Regions from separate parts of the Homo sapiens genome. Here region 2 is linked to region 1. Evidence: promoter capture Hi-C in 16 types of primary human blood cells and fetal thymus (Javierre and others, 2016). All regions are on one chromosome and are shown on one strand. The core of a region is centred on a gene start or on the middle of the fragment in contact, and the rest is flanking DNA. Distances in the headings are between cores, read along the strand shown.

Region 1 (5,532 bases), core at 1,581-4,080:
AGGAAGCTTAAATATTTTTATTCATTCAACAAATATGTTCTGAAAGGCGTTGTGTACAAATTACCCTTTTTTATTTCTTCAAATAAATCAAGCATATATTAACTTTTAATATTACCAAGAAAATATAAATCTAATTCTTAAGCTCTGGTTCCAAAACTTCTTAGAAGTAAATTTTTATTACCTGAGAAAATGTGAACTTAAGTAATAAGTATTGATACTGAAGAAGGGACAGTTGAGTTTGTGTCAAAACTTAAAACTGTTTTGACACAAAATAAATAAAAACAATTCCCTAAATTTTTTTCCTATTGAACAGAAATACGGACCCAGACTAAGCCCATAAATTGCTGGGTCAATAACCAATCTGAAATACAAAACCTTACCACTTAAAAATATTTATTTTCAGGAAAATGATATTAAATATGAGGTAAATCTGCCCTTGACATAACACGGTGAGATTGTTTTCATAACACAGCACATGAACCACTTAAAACTTACAACCTATAAATTACTACAATTGTTCTAATAGGTTTAGGGCCATACATAAATTTAAGTATCATTATAACACAGACTTTACTTGGAATCTGTGCTGACCTAACAAAATTAGCACAGAAAAAAAAAAAAAATCACAGATTTGAGCACCTGAAAAACGGTGTCCTTTCTGAAATATCTGCAAAAAAGTCACAACATCAGGAGCCATAGAAAGTTGTTATTTCTCCATCATTCAAAAAATCAAAACATCTCCAACATTATTTATGCTAAGCATAAAATGAAGGTCAGTATTGATATTCATTCACTATACTTCAAATCCTAAACAAGAAAATTCAACCTTTATGTTTATTCAATTGCTAATCTATTCAGTGTCAATTGTTGTGGAAGAACTAAGAACTAGACTAGTGCTGCTTATAATGTTTTTAATTAGAACAGACTTGGACCAATTCTACTTAGAAATTTACCCTTAGAAGAGGTGAAAGATATTAACTGGCATCTTTTCAGCACAGGTCAGTGCTGAAAAGAACACAACCTATAACCCTTAGGCCTTGCAGTTGAATGTTAACAAGTGAAAAGCAATCTCCTTGGATGTATCCAAGCGATTTTAATATAAATTTCTGCATACCTAGGTAGAAAGTACTTTAGAAATAAATCTACCTTTTCCCTCACTTGTAAGAAAATGTGGTAGAAGCCTTGAAAAATTAAGTTTAAGGCTGAGCGAGGTGGCTCACGCCTGTAATCCAAGCACTTTGGGAGGCGGAGGAGGGCAGATGACTTGAGGTCAGGAGTTCCAGACCAGCCTGGCCAACATGGTGAAACCCCGTCTCTACTAAAAATACAAAAATCAGCCGGGCATGGTGGCGGGCGCCTGTAATCCCAGCTACTCCGGATGGTGAGGCAGGAGAATCGCTTGAATCCGGGAGGTGGAGGCTGTAGTGAGCCGAGATTGTGCCACTGCAATCCAGCCTGGGTGACAGAGCAAGACTCCGTCGCAAAACAAAACAAAAACGAAATCAAATTTCAAACTCAGAGAAAAGACTGGTCTTGAACAATTTCAGGAAAAATTACTGAAACACGAGACAAGGCACAAGAAGCTCTATGGCCGGAGATGAACCACCTGTCTCCTTTCGAAGTGCTTCCTGAGGTCCACTTTATGCTAGTTAATGTTGCTTCTTATACTGCATGTTAGTAATTCAAAACGCCTAGCTGGAATAAAAGTCCTCTTTAAACATTACAGTTTGTCTCCGCGTTGCCAGTGTTTGTTTCCAGTTTCATAGGCTATTCTGGTATGTCAAGAGTTGTGTTATTACTGTTCCAAAAGAGCCCTTGTTTCAATCCACTCTCACCTGGGATGCGGGCATAACTGATGTTTATAGAACTGATACTTAGAGATGTTTAGAGAGGCGCATCCCTTACCACTCCATCCTTTACCGATAACCACATTTTATATGTTTTTGTTGCATTTAAGTTTTTTGTTTTTTTTTTTTAAAGACACCTGCACACACACAATTTTCCCATCGCCAGCAGGGAGAAGACTACCAGGCTAGATCTCCAGGGACTTCAGGGAAACAGACACCGTGAAATCCACTTGGCCAAAGAAGGGGAGCGCTTCAGGGGCTGGGGGAGGAAGCAGCCCTGAGGTGCTGGGAGGCCGAGGCGGCGCCTGTTTACAGACGCCTTCGCCCTCCCCCACCCCCACAGACTAGGGGTCCAAAAAGCAGTTCCCGTGCGCATTCCCCGCCTGGCCCAGGCCCTGGGAGTACCACAGGAGCCAGGTAGCCCTTTCGCCCCCTCCCTCTCGTCCGAGCCTCCCTTCGTCCTCCTCTCGGCCTACCTACCCCGACAGGCCCTACAGGCGGCATGCAGAGGCCTGAGGCCTAAAGGACGCCGGCCACTGACAAGCCCCAGAACAGCCGGCGGGGGCCCTGAGGAGCCTGGGGCCGGCCGGGCTGCCGCTGCCGCGGAGGAGCAGAGGGCGGGCGAGGACAAACCCTTCCCGACCACAGCTGCCTATTGTTCCCGACTGAGGCCCCGGCCGCGGCAGCCCCGCTCCCCAAGTCGCCGCCCGCCGCTCGCTCACCGCGCTGGTCCGAGCAGCAGCTCCTCTCAGCTCCGAGTCCCCGCGGCCGTCGCCACCGCCGCGGCAGCCGCCGCCGCCGCCGAGGCCACCGTTGACTCTGATTCTGTCCCAGGCCGCCGGGCCACGGCTGCCGCCGCCACCGCCAGCACCGCCTCCGGCCTCCCACCTGCTGCTGCTGAGGCTGCTCCTGCAGCAGGGGCCATCTTGTTGCTCGGCCTCCTCTTCCTCCTCCTCGTCCTCCGCCGCCCAGTCGCTCGTTGTCCTCGTCCCCTTCCTCTTCCTCAGGCTCCGGCCCGCCCCGGAGACTGGGGCGGAGACGAGGGCGAGGATCCTCCCTCAGGAGGCGGGGCGGGCGGAGGGGAGGGGCGGGCGCGGGAGCAAAGCTCTGAGTCACCGGCCACCAACGCCCGGAGGGAGACCGGCGACGCTCTCCGCCGCGACCGAAAGTCTCACACGCCCTGAGCAGATGAACCGGTCCCTCGGTCCGGTCTGCCCTCCCGCACCGGCGCCTTTGGGCTCAGCGGGCCAGTGGCCAGATGGCGAGAGTAAATTGGGGGAATTTCTTTCGTTTCCATCGAACCCCACACTACGTCTACTCTTTCGGCTTTCTCAGCCGTTGTCCCCCAACTCTTGTTTCTTTTTCACGTCTTGTCCCCCACCCCATTTTTCTTCTTCCATATTATCCAGGTTCTGGATCTCATCAGCTTTGTCCTCGTCACCCCTCTGGGAGTTCAGCCTCCTAAGGCTGTGAAACAGCCCAAAAGGCCCGGACACGCTACTCCAAAACGTCTCTCCTGGGCTGTGTGAACAATAAGAGCTATTTGGGGACGACAGGAAAAGATATGGCCCATAGAAGGGCTCCTGAAATCTAACCTTGCGACTCTTTAAAAGTTTCTTGTCCCTTGTGGAAAAGGTGCCGTTTTGGTTTTGGGGAATGGGAGGTCCCTTCAGACAATTCATTTTAGCCAAACCCTCGCTTTTGAGAAGGGGAAGAAATGGGATTATTGTAACACCATACAGTACTAATTTCAAAATAAATCATCTAGAATAGAGGAGAGAGAGAGTCCCCAAATAAACAACCATTTAATACCTCTACTCGGCGCTATCACCTTTTTTGCTTCAGGATTTGACCAAGAGAGCAGAGATTATGTTTTTCTGTCCTTTCTTCACTGTTTACATCACAGTACCCCAAGAGAAGCACTTCTGCCTTTAACTTGATACATTGGAATCGCTATCACAGATAGTGTTTTTGTATTATTTTTAAGAAATATCACACACCTTCCTAAACTCTTGGCAGAGAAGAATTCTTTTTAGTTGTTAGCACCCTCCTGCTACTGAGATCTCAGCTTCTGTTTAGAAGACCTATTGTTGTCTTTCCACTGATTGGAATTTGCTGCCTCTGAACTGGGTTTAATCTGTAATCGTCTTTTCAGCCTACTAAATAGTAACCCCAGTCCTACAGAGAGTGAATTTCTAGCTACCACAGGGGGATTTAGGTTAGCATGTGCCAATCTAAAGGGATCTCTTAAAGCCTTTCCCTTCTCAGACCAGGCCTCTGTACCCTGCTAGGAAAAACAGATTAATCTGCTCCTCCTGCTTTTCCTCCTCCTCCCTTCTTCTCACTCCTAGGGAACCTTCCACAACAGAAGGTTTTAGCGACTGTTGCTAGGCAAACATGCCAACTTCCTTGTTTAGGTGAAGCGAGTAACTCAACTTCCATTGCAAGTAACCTAGATAATGTAATTTCTTTGAACTATTAATAGTTATACCACAGTTGGTAAGGCTCCTTAAAGGTTCCCTTAAGCAGTATGATTTTTACGTTGTTTATTTTTATCTCGTCAATATTTCAATTAAAAATACGTTAAAGGACAGATAGATGCAGTGGCTCACGCCTGTAATCCCAACATTTTAGGAGGCTGAGGGGGGCGGATCACCTGAGGTCCGGAGCCTGACCAACGTGGAGAAACCCCATCTCTACTAAAAATACAAAAATTAGCCAGGTGTGGTGGCGTGCACCTATAGTCCTAGCTACTCGGGAGGCTGAGGCAGGAGAATCACTTGAACCTGGGAGGTGGAGGTTGTAGTGAGCCGAGATCACGCCATTGCACTCCAGTCTGGGCAAAAAGAGCTAAACTCTGTCTCAAAAAAAAAAAAAAAAAAAAAAAAAAAGTTAAAAATGGCGGCGCTTCCCCAAACCCAAATTCATTTTAGTGATATAAAGATGCATTTGACAGAAAAAGAAGAGCAGCTTTGAAGAAAACACTTATGCTTACAATAAAAAATAAAAAACTAATCTGTGAGAAGTCATATGTTTTCAACTCCCCAGTCAGACTAGAAGTGTAAGATACAGGGGATAAGGCCGGGAGCGGTGGCTCACGCTTGTAATCCCAGCACTTTGGGAGGCCGAGGCAGGCAGATCACGAGGTCAGGAGATGCAGACTATTCTGGCCAACATGGTGAAACCCCGTCTCTACCAAAAATACAAAAAGCCCGGCGTGGTGGCGCGCGCCTATAGTCCCAGCTACTCAGGAGACAGAGGCAGGAGAATCACTTGAACCTGAGAGGCAGAGGCTGCAGTGAGCCAAGATTGTACCACTGCACTCCAGCCTGGATGACAGCAAGACTCGGTCTTGGCAGAGCATTGTGGCCCACGCCTGTAATCCCAGCACTTTGGGAGGCTGAGGAGGGTGGCTCTCCTAAGGTCAGGAGTTCAAGACCAGCTTGGCCAACATGGTGAAACCCCGTCTCTACTAAAAATACAAAAAAATTAGCTGGGCGTGGTGGCAGGCACCTGTAATCCCATCTACTAGGGAGGCTGAGGCAGGAGAATCCTTTGAACCTGGGAGGCGGAGGTTGCAGTGAGCCGAGATCGTGCCATTGCACTCCAGCCTGGGCAACAAGAATGAAACTCCGTCTCAAAAAAAACACCAAAAATTAGCTGGGCATGGTGGTGCACGCTTGTA
Region 2 (6,149 bases), core at 761-3,260, 1.6 Mb before region 1:
GCATACAGAAGCAAAGATGGCCATGTTCAAGGATAGTGTGCTGGATACAATGGCAGCATTGGCACCATAGTCAAAAAAGATGAGATGGCCTAACAGCATGAAGACTGACATGGCATAGATGGTGTCAGTGCTGACAGACTCTGTAAGGGTCTTCAGCACTGGTGAAAACCCATAAGTGAAAGTAATGAAGACTAGGGCACTCTTCAGGTCAGCCCACCGGGTCTGCCCACTCTTCTTCCGCCCTTCACCTCCATCAATGAGATCAAACAAAACATACCCAATCAGTGAAGAAGCCAGACCAGTCCCTAAAAGCCAATGGGGGGCCAGAAGACCCTCATCCATATACCACCAGATAACCACAAAAACACAAACACTGCACAGCTGCTGGATCACCACACTGGACTCAAATACCACAGCCCAATATTGGTATTTCCGAGCATGGATGTTTTTCCGGAGCTCTTCCAGGAATCGCCGGTCCACATAGTTATCAGGAAAGGGCTGTCGCTCATACAAGACCTTCTGCCACTTGACCTCCTTGGTGTTAGTCACAGGTTGAGCATACATTATCCTTTCATTCAAACTCAGGCCAGTTTAATCATCGCCCTCACAGAAGTCCAGGTGGTTCTTGTTCTTTATGAAGTTTTGAAATGAGACCTCCCTGGAAATTCCATGCTGTGTTGATGTTCTACCAACCTTTCCTTGTTTTCAAAGGCAGGGGCTAGGCCTACAATAGATGAATTTGTCTCTGAGGCAGGACAACACAGCCAAGTTCCTAGAAAAAGAGAGACTGTGAACCTACGAAAGTTGTGAAAGGTCAAGAGTAGTACTGAGATAAAGTCAAATCAACTCAGTTTACTAAAAGTCTGAGAAAAATGTATGTGGTAGTCACCTTATGGGACATTAAAACTGCATTTCAGATTTGAAAATTATAATTCCTTGAATAATAATAGACATCTGTTAGCTATCGCTTATTGAGTACCTACTATGTGCTAAGTGCCTTATGTATCTTCTTTCACTTAATCCTCACCACCTTGTAAGTTAGTATTAGTCCTGCTTTGGTAAAAAAGCTGAGATTCAAGATGCTTAAGTAACTTTGCCCTAAGGTAACAGAGCAGAGCCAGGATTCAAACCAAAGTCTTATCCCAAAGCCTGTGTCTCACATTGTATCTCCCTCTAAAGCAGTTCTTAACTCAGTGGTTCACATATCCCTTAGGTATATCACATTGCATGCTTATATCTGGATTTGTGTAAATTTATAGGGATAATATCCATAGTTTTTATTGGTTCTCAAAGGCATGTTATTTGTATTTTTTAAGTTACCAATCCAAAGACAATAGTAAGCTGCACCATACAGAAAGGTATGAGCTCTATAGTTTAACCAAAATCAAAGCCTCAAAGAAACTAGACTCTTCTTCCATTAGCTGAGCTTAGCATCCTTTAAAGAGCTATCAATCTACTCAAAACAAGGAAACTCTTGAGAGGATCGAAGAAGATAATCATTCCTTTTTCACAATGAGAAAACTAAGAGTCAGAAACACCACAGCCATCCGGCAAATTTGAGAAAAAAAAAATTCATATTGCCCGACTTTATTTCTTCCATGATAGACCACAACAAATATTGCTTGGCAAGCCAGACACCGTTACCCCCTCTGCAGCAGGGATCCCAGCCCGGGAATCTTAAGGCCGCCGCCGGGGTTGGAGGGTCTGCGACGCCCAAAAGGGCAGCGCCCGCCCGCAGAGTGGGGCTGGGAGGGGACGGGGTAGGGTAGGGTGACCCCAGGGTGCGCCTTCACTCTTCTGGCACCCCATTTGGCTTTTTGGGTGGGCCTCCCACTTCCGCCGCCGCCCCTCACTCAGCCTTGGGTCTGCGGGAGGCAGCAGAGGAAAAGGAGCCCCGGAAACACTGACCGTTACACGGAACCCACCTACCCGAGAGTTCCTAGGGTTGCGCAGCTGGGGGACGGCGGCACCCAGCCTTTTTCCCGCTTCGGGGCGCCGGGGCTGCGACTGTGGCCAAGCACTTCCGGGTCCGCCGCAATCTCCTTAGCGAGGGCACCCTTCCCCGGCTGGAACCATCGCGACGTGACTGCTGCCCCCTCCTGGCTGCTCGAAGGACCTCCGGTCTCCTCTCCTGGAGACTGGCCCAAACCCGAATGCTCTGAGCCTAGGAAGGCAAATCCCCAGCAATCCCCTATTGAAAGATGGGATGTGCCATCTGAAGGACTGGGTAAGGCAAGAGAGGACAAGGAAAGAGGCTGGGCCAGTAGGTGAGAGATAATGGCCGCTTTTGTTGCGCTCCTTTATTAAGTCAGGCCCTCAGCTGGGACTTCCCGTGCATCCATGCGTTCATTCCACAGATACTGATTGAATGCCTGCATGTAACAAGCCATGCTTGGGGTGCTCATGATACAGCCGTGAATGAAACACACAAAAATTGCTGCTCTCATGAAACTCTCTTTTTTGGTGCATTGACCTTTACACTGATTATATCATCTCCCCCCTCAAAGAGGACAAATCTAAGGCTCAGATAAGTTGTATTTGTCCAAAGACAGGCACCTGGGAAGTAGATGAACAGAGATCAATATCCAGTTGTCTATAGCTTCAAAGCTTGGTTTTTTTCCTCTTTACCTCCTAAAAGAAGTGAGGACAAGATTGCTAATTAAACTGAGTTCATGGAAATATTAAAGGATATATAAACAGAAGGAAGTAATAAAGAAACAAAGGGATGTAGTAAAACACAGGATACAGTGGAAATAAAAGTCAGAAAACATGACCCATTTACTAGCTCAGTGACTCAAGGCAAATCACACTACCTGAGCTTTGATTTCTTCATCAGTAAAATGGAGATGACATTATTTGCACTTGGCTACTTTATAGGATGGTTAAAGAGTTAAATATAAAAATGGTTTGTAAAGTGTTCACTATATGGCTGCTATTAGCTGACTTTGGCCATCGTAATGATAGCAATGTTTAAGTGTGATATATTCTGTAAAATGTTCTCTATTTCCCTCTAGGCTTCTGTTCCAAAATTTGACAAGATTCCTTGGCTTAGTGAGGCCAGCCTTGTAAACAAGCCATTAGTGCTCAGCCTTCCCAGAAGGTAACCTCTCAGCCACCGAGGGCAAAAGTTTTACGAAACATCTCACAGAAGATGATTTCTTCTTAAGGGATGGGGACAATTATCAGAGGGCACATTTGATCCATTGAGAAACTCAAGTCAAGTGCTTTAAAAATAGAAATAATCCGGGTTTCTCAGAAAAAAATGATCACTGAGTATAGGCCTGGCTAGAGGAGATGAGATCTCAAAATTTTTCCCTCTCCACCACTACCACTCAACAGTATAAGATAATTTTTCCCCTAGACACTGTCTCTCAAAACACTTCCATCCTCTTTCTCACCCCACATTTTCTCCACTGCTGTAGTCTGAAATTTTCACATTTTTACCATCAAAAGTCTAGAACAGTAAGTTCCCATCTTTATAGAATAGTAACTCTGTATGTAACTTTGAGGCACCCTCCTACATTCCTGTTAGTCCTACTCCTTCCAAACAAACTACTATATGACACATAAATCTATTTTTCAAAATTGCAGGAATTACATATCTAGGGAGCATTTCAACTGTCTCTTGAAATAATTGGGTTACCGTGTCCCTTCTCCATTTTTGATGAAATGGTTCCTAAGTGTAGTGATAAACCCCACTCTGGGAAGGGGACATGGACAGAAGGGTAGGTGTGAGGTAGTGTTGGGGTGAATGAGAGAAACCAGAAAGAGGGCAGAGAGAAAGAGAAAGGGCAGGCATAGAGGCCATTCCAAAGGCACACGACAGACTAAAAAGGAATGACTCCTTGGCATTCGAAACAGCTCGTTAGAAAAGCCAGACTCCCCAAAAAGAGTTTCTCCTCCTGTTGATAACTACCATGTACCCTCCTGCCCATGGATAAGTGACTTCATAAGCAAATTCCCATCACTGTCTCCACATCCCCACTTTAGTAACATGTACCTTTGCTTTGTCTACTGTACATTAAAAAAAAATCTCATTCTCAGTAAATAGGTAGACGGTTTTAGTATTTTCAGAACAAAATTCACAAGTGCTTTCAAGTGCTCGTTATTCAGTTGTGTTATTTTTACATAATTTTGAATATAACGAAAGCAGATTATCAGAGGTTCAATAAACTCAAAGGCCTATTTAAGAAACAAAAGTACTAAGTGATAGAGTGCTTATTAAGAGTTGTTAACACTGCATGGATCAGCACGAGTAAGGACAGTCTAGCATATTTTAATTGAGGGTGGGACACAAACTCACAGGCCCATGACAGTCAGATGAGGGGCATAATGAGTAAAGCTGGCCAAACAGGACTGCAATGAATGGGAAATCACCTCCCCGCTTCAGCCCACCCCCACGCCAGCAGTGTTACCTGCAGGCATGTGAGTCCAGAGGCCAGATCCACTGGGTCTTCTAACAGTACTAGAAATCTGGATGTTTTATGTGAAATTGCTAGTGTTTGATCTAATAGGGTAATATCCCACCATCCCATACTACCCCCATGCCCATTAGACCTGCCCCAGCAGCGAAGAGCAAAGTATCCTTGTGCATGGCTCTCTTGCCCCCAGCTCCCTTGGTCTCTAATTACACAAGCCTTTGGCAGAGGGTGGAGATCAGGGAGAAGGGTAGGCCTAGAATACAACTGGGCATCGGCAGCACCTGTTCACTTTCATAGCCAGGTCCTGGAGGGTCAGAGCAGACAGTCTGTTGACAGCCAACTGGAAAGGGAGTGGGCAGTTTTTCCTCCAGCCAGCCAAACCTAAGCTAGGCACAAGGAGAAATTACCTTAGGCAGGCAGTGAAGCTCTACTCATCGCTATTCTGGGAGGATTGGGGTAGCAATCTTAATTCTTGTTTAGAAAAATGTAATATACCTACCTCACAACAAAGGTGACCGAACAGCACCTTTGAGGTGCCCTGAGCTCTCAGGAGGACAAGACGGGAATGAAAAGTCTTTTGAAAGGATGGTTTAAGTATCAAAAGATCTTAAGGATTAAAAGCTCCTCATGTGGGCCAAAGCTCCGGGTTCCAAGCTGTTTATTTTTGGCAAAGCCCCTTACTGAGACTTTGGGAGAAAGTTCTCAATGTGCCTTAAGCATTACATACCCTTGAGCAAAGAGTTCTAATGCAGAACAGTCTGAAAAAAGATAAAGGAACATTTAGCCAAATATGCTCAGAGTAATTCCAAGTGTGCGCAATGGAAACACACCTACAGGGTTGGAGGAGGTGAGGCTGGGCTGTAATAAGAAGTGCCTGTACTGACCCACTTCCTTCAAGGACTCTCTCAGGTAGGCCTGACAATTTCAAAGCCACACTCATCGTCAGTCTCCAAAGCCCTTCAAGTCACACTAAGGTCATGTTTATATAAGATTATTGTATGCTGAAGGAGTTCTAAACTGGCCTCCTGGTCTCTGCTGGTCAGCATTTGGGTGACAAGTCCAAGAGAGCCTATTCCCATATCAAAGACAAAGACCCCGAGGGCACTCATGTCAGACCCACCATCTCTGGTCTTACAGGGCCCAGGGAAGTGTGAGGAGAAATGAAGCAAGAAATGTCTCATGAGCATCAAACTCCTTTCACATGCCTTTGTTTTAAATAAACAATGGACAATGAAATCTTCCCTCATTAGAGAGGAGGTGTGTTCCCGGCAAAACTGCCAGCATTCTGAGTTTCTATTTCTTGGATGCCAGGGGCATGAATGGTGCAACACACACAGTTTATGATTATCAGGCCCCTGCAGGCCTTGGCCCCTTACACTGTAATGAAATGAACCACAGTGCCAAGTGAGACAGAGCGCAGGCAGGTCACCCTGTAAAAGGAACTGGTGTTCTTGCAACATCACTGCTTCAACTGCTAACTAGAAAGAAAAAATGTTCCAAAGGAAAAGAATGGGTGAAGGGAGAAGACATTCTGTGGGAGGAAACAGGTGGATTGTTTCAGGGTGCAAGGACACAAACTCCAAGAAGTCAGCCCAGGTACGAAAGGGGACAGGTGCAGGTTAAACATCAAAAACTTGAGTGCAGACCCTTTCAAAGAGGAAACCTGGGATTCATTTCGCTCATTACACATCTACTGTTGTGAACAATCTTTATCCTGCCTTGTTTGTA

Evidence for each region. The method cuts DNA at HindIII sites, captures the fragments that hold promoters and counts their contacts. A CHiCAGO score of 5 or more calls a contact.
Region 2: the fragment with the promoter of PIGC here is called in contact with the fragment with the promoter of RC3H1 in region 1 in 1 of 17 cell types (total B cells); the score reaches 5.2 in total B cells.

What each region holds. Positions count from the first base shown.
Region 1 is chr1:174,019,527-174,025,058 of GRCh38, forward strand. RC3H1 (ring finger and CCCH-type domains 1) reads right to left here and starts at 2,831. Exons shown (of 20, transcript NM_172071.4): 1 at 2,570-2,831. It overlaps RC3H1-DT (RC3H1 divergent transcript), which reads left to right and starts at 2,957. Exons shown (of 2, transcript NR_187284.1): 1 at 2,957-3,114; 2 at 3,257-3,664. RefSeq lists enhancers at 1,457-1,576, 1,641-2,180 and silencers at 2,387-2,706, 2,817-3,066. The HindIII fragment of the contact is 5,810 bases long and covers 5-5,532 here.
Region 2 is chr1:172,442,059-172,448,207 of GRCh38, forward strand. PIGC (phosphatidylinositol glycan anchor biosynthesis class C) reads right to left here and starts at 2,011. Exons shown (of 2, transcript NM_153747.2): 1 at 1,930-2,011; 2 at 1-772. The coding sequence starts at 564. It overlaps C1orf105 (chromosome 1 open reading frame 105), which reads left to right. Exons shown (of 7, transcript NM_139240.4): 2 at 3,015-3,100. RefSeq lists enhancers at 1,843-2,366, 2,090-2,399. The HindIII fragment of the contact is 3,601 bases long and covers 1-2,605 here.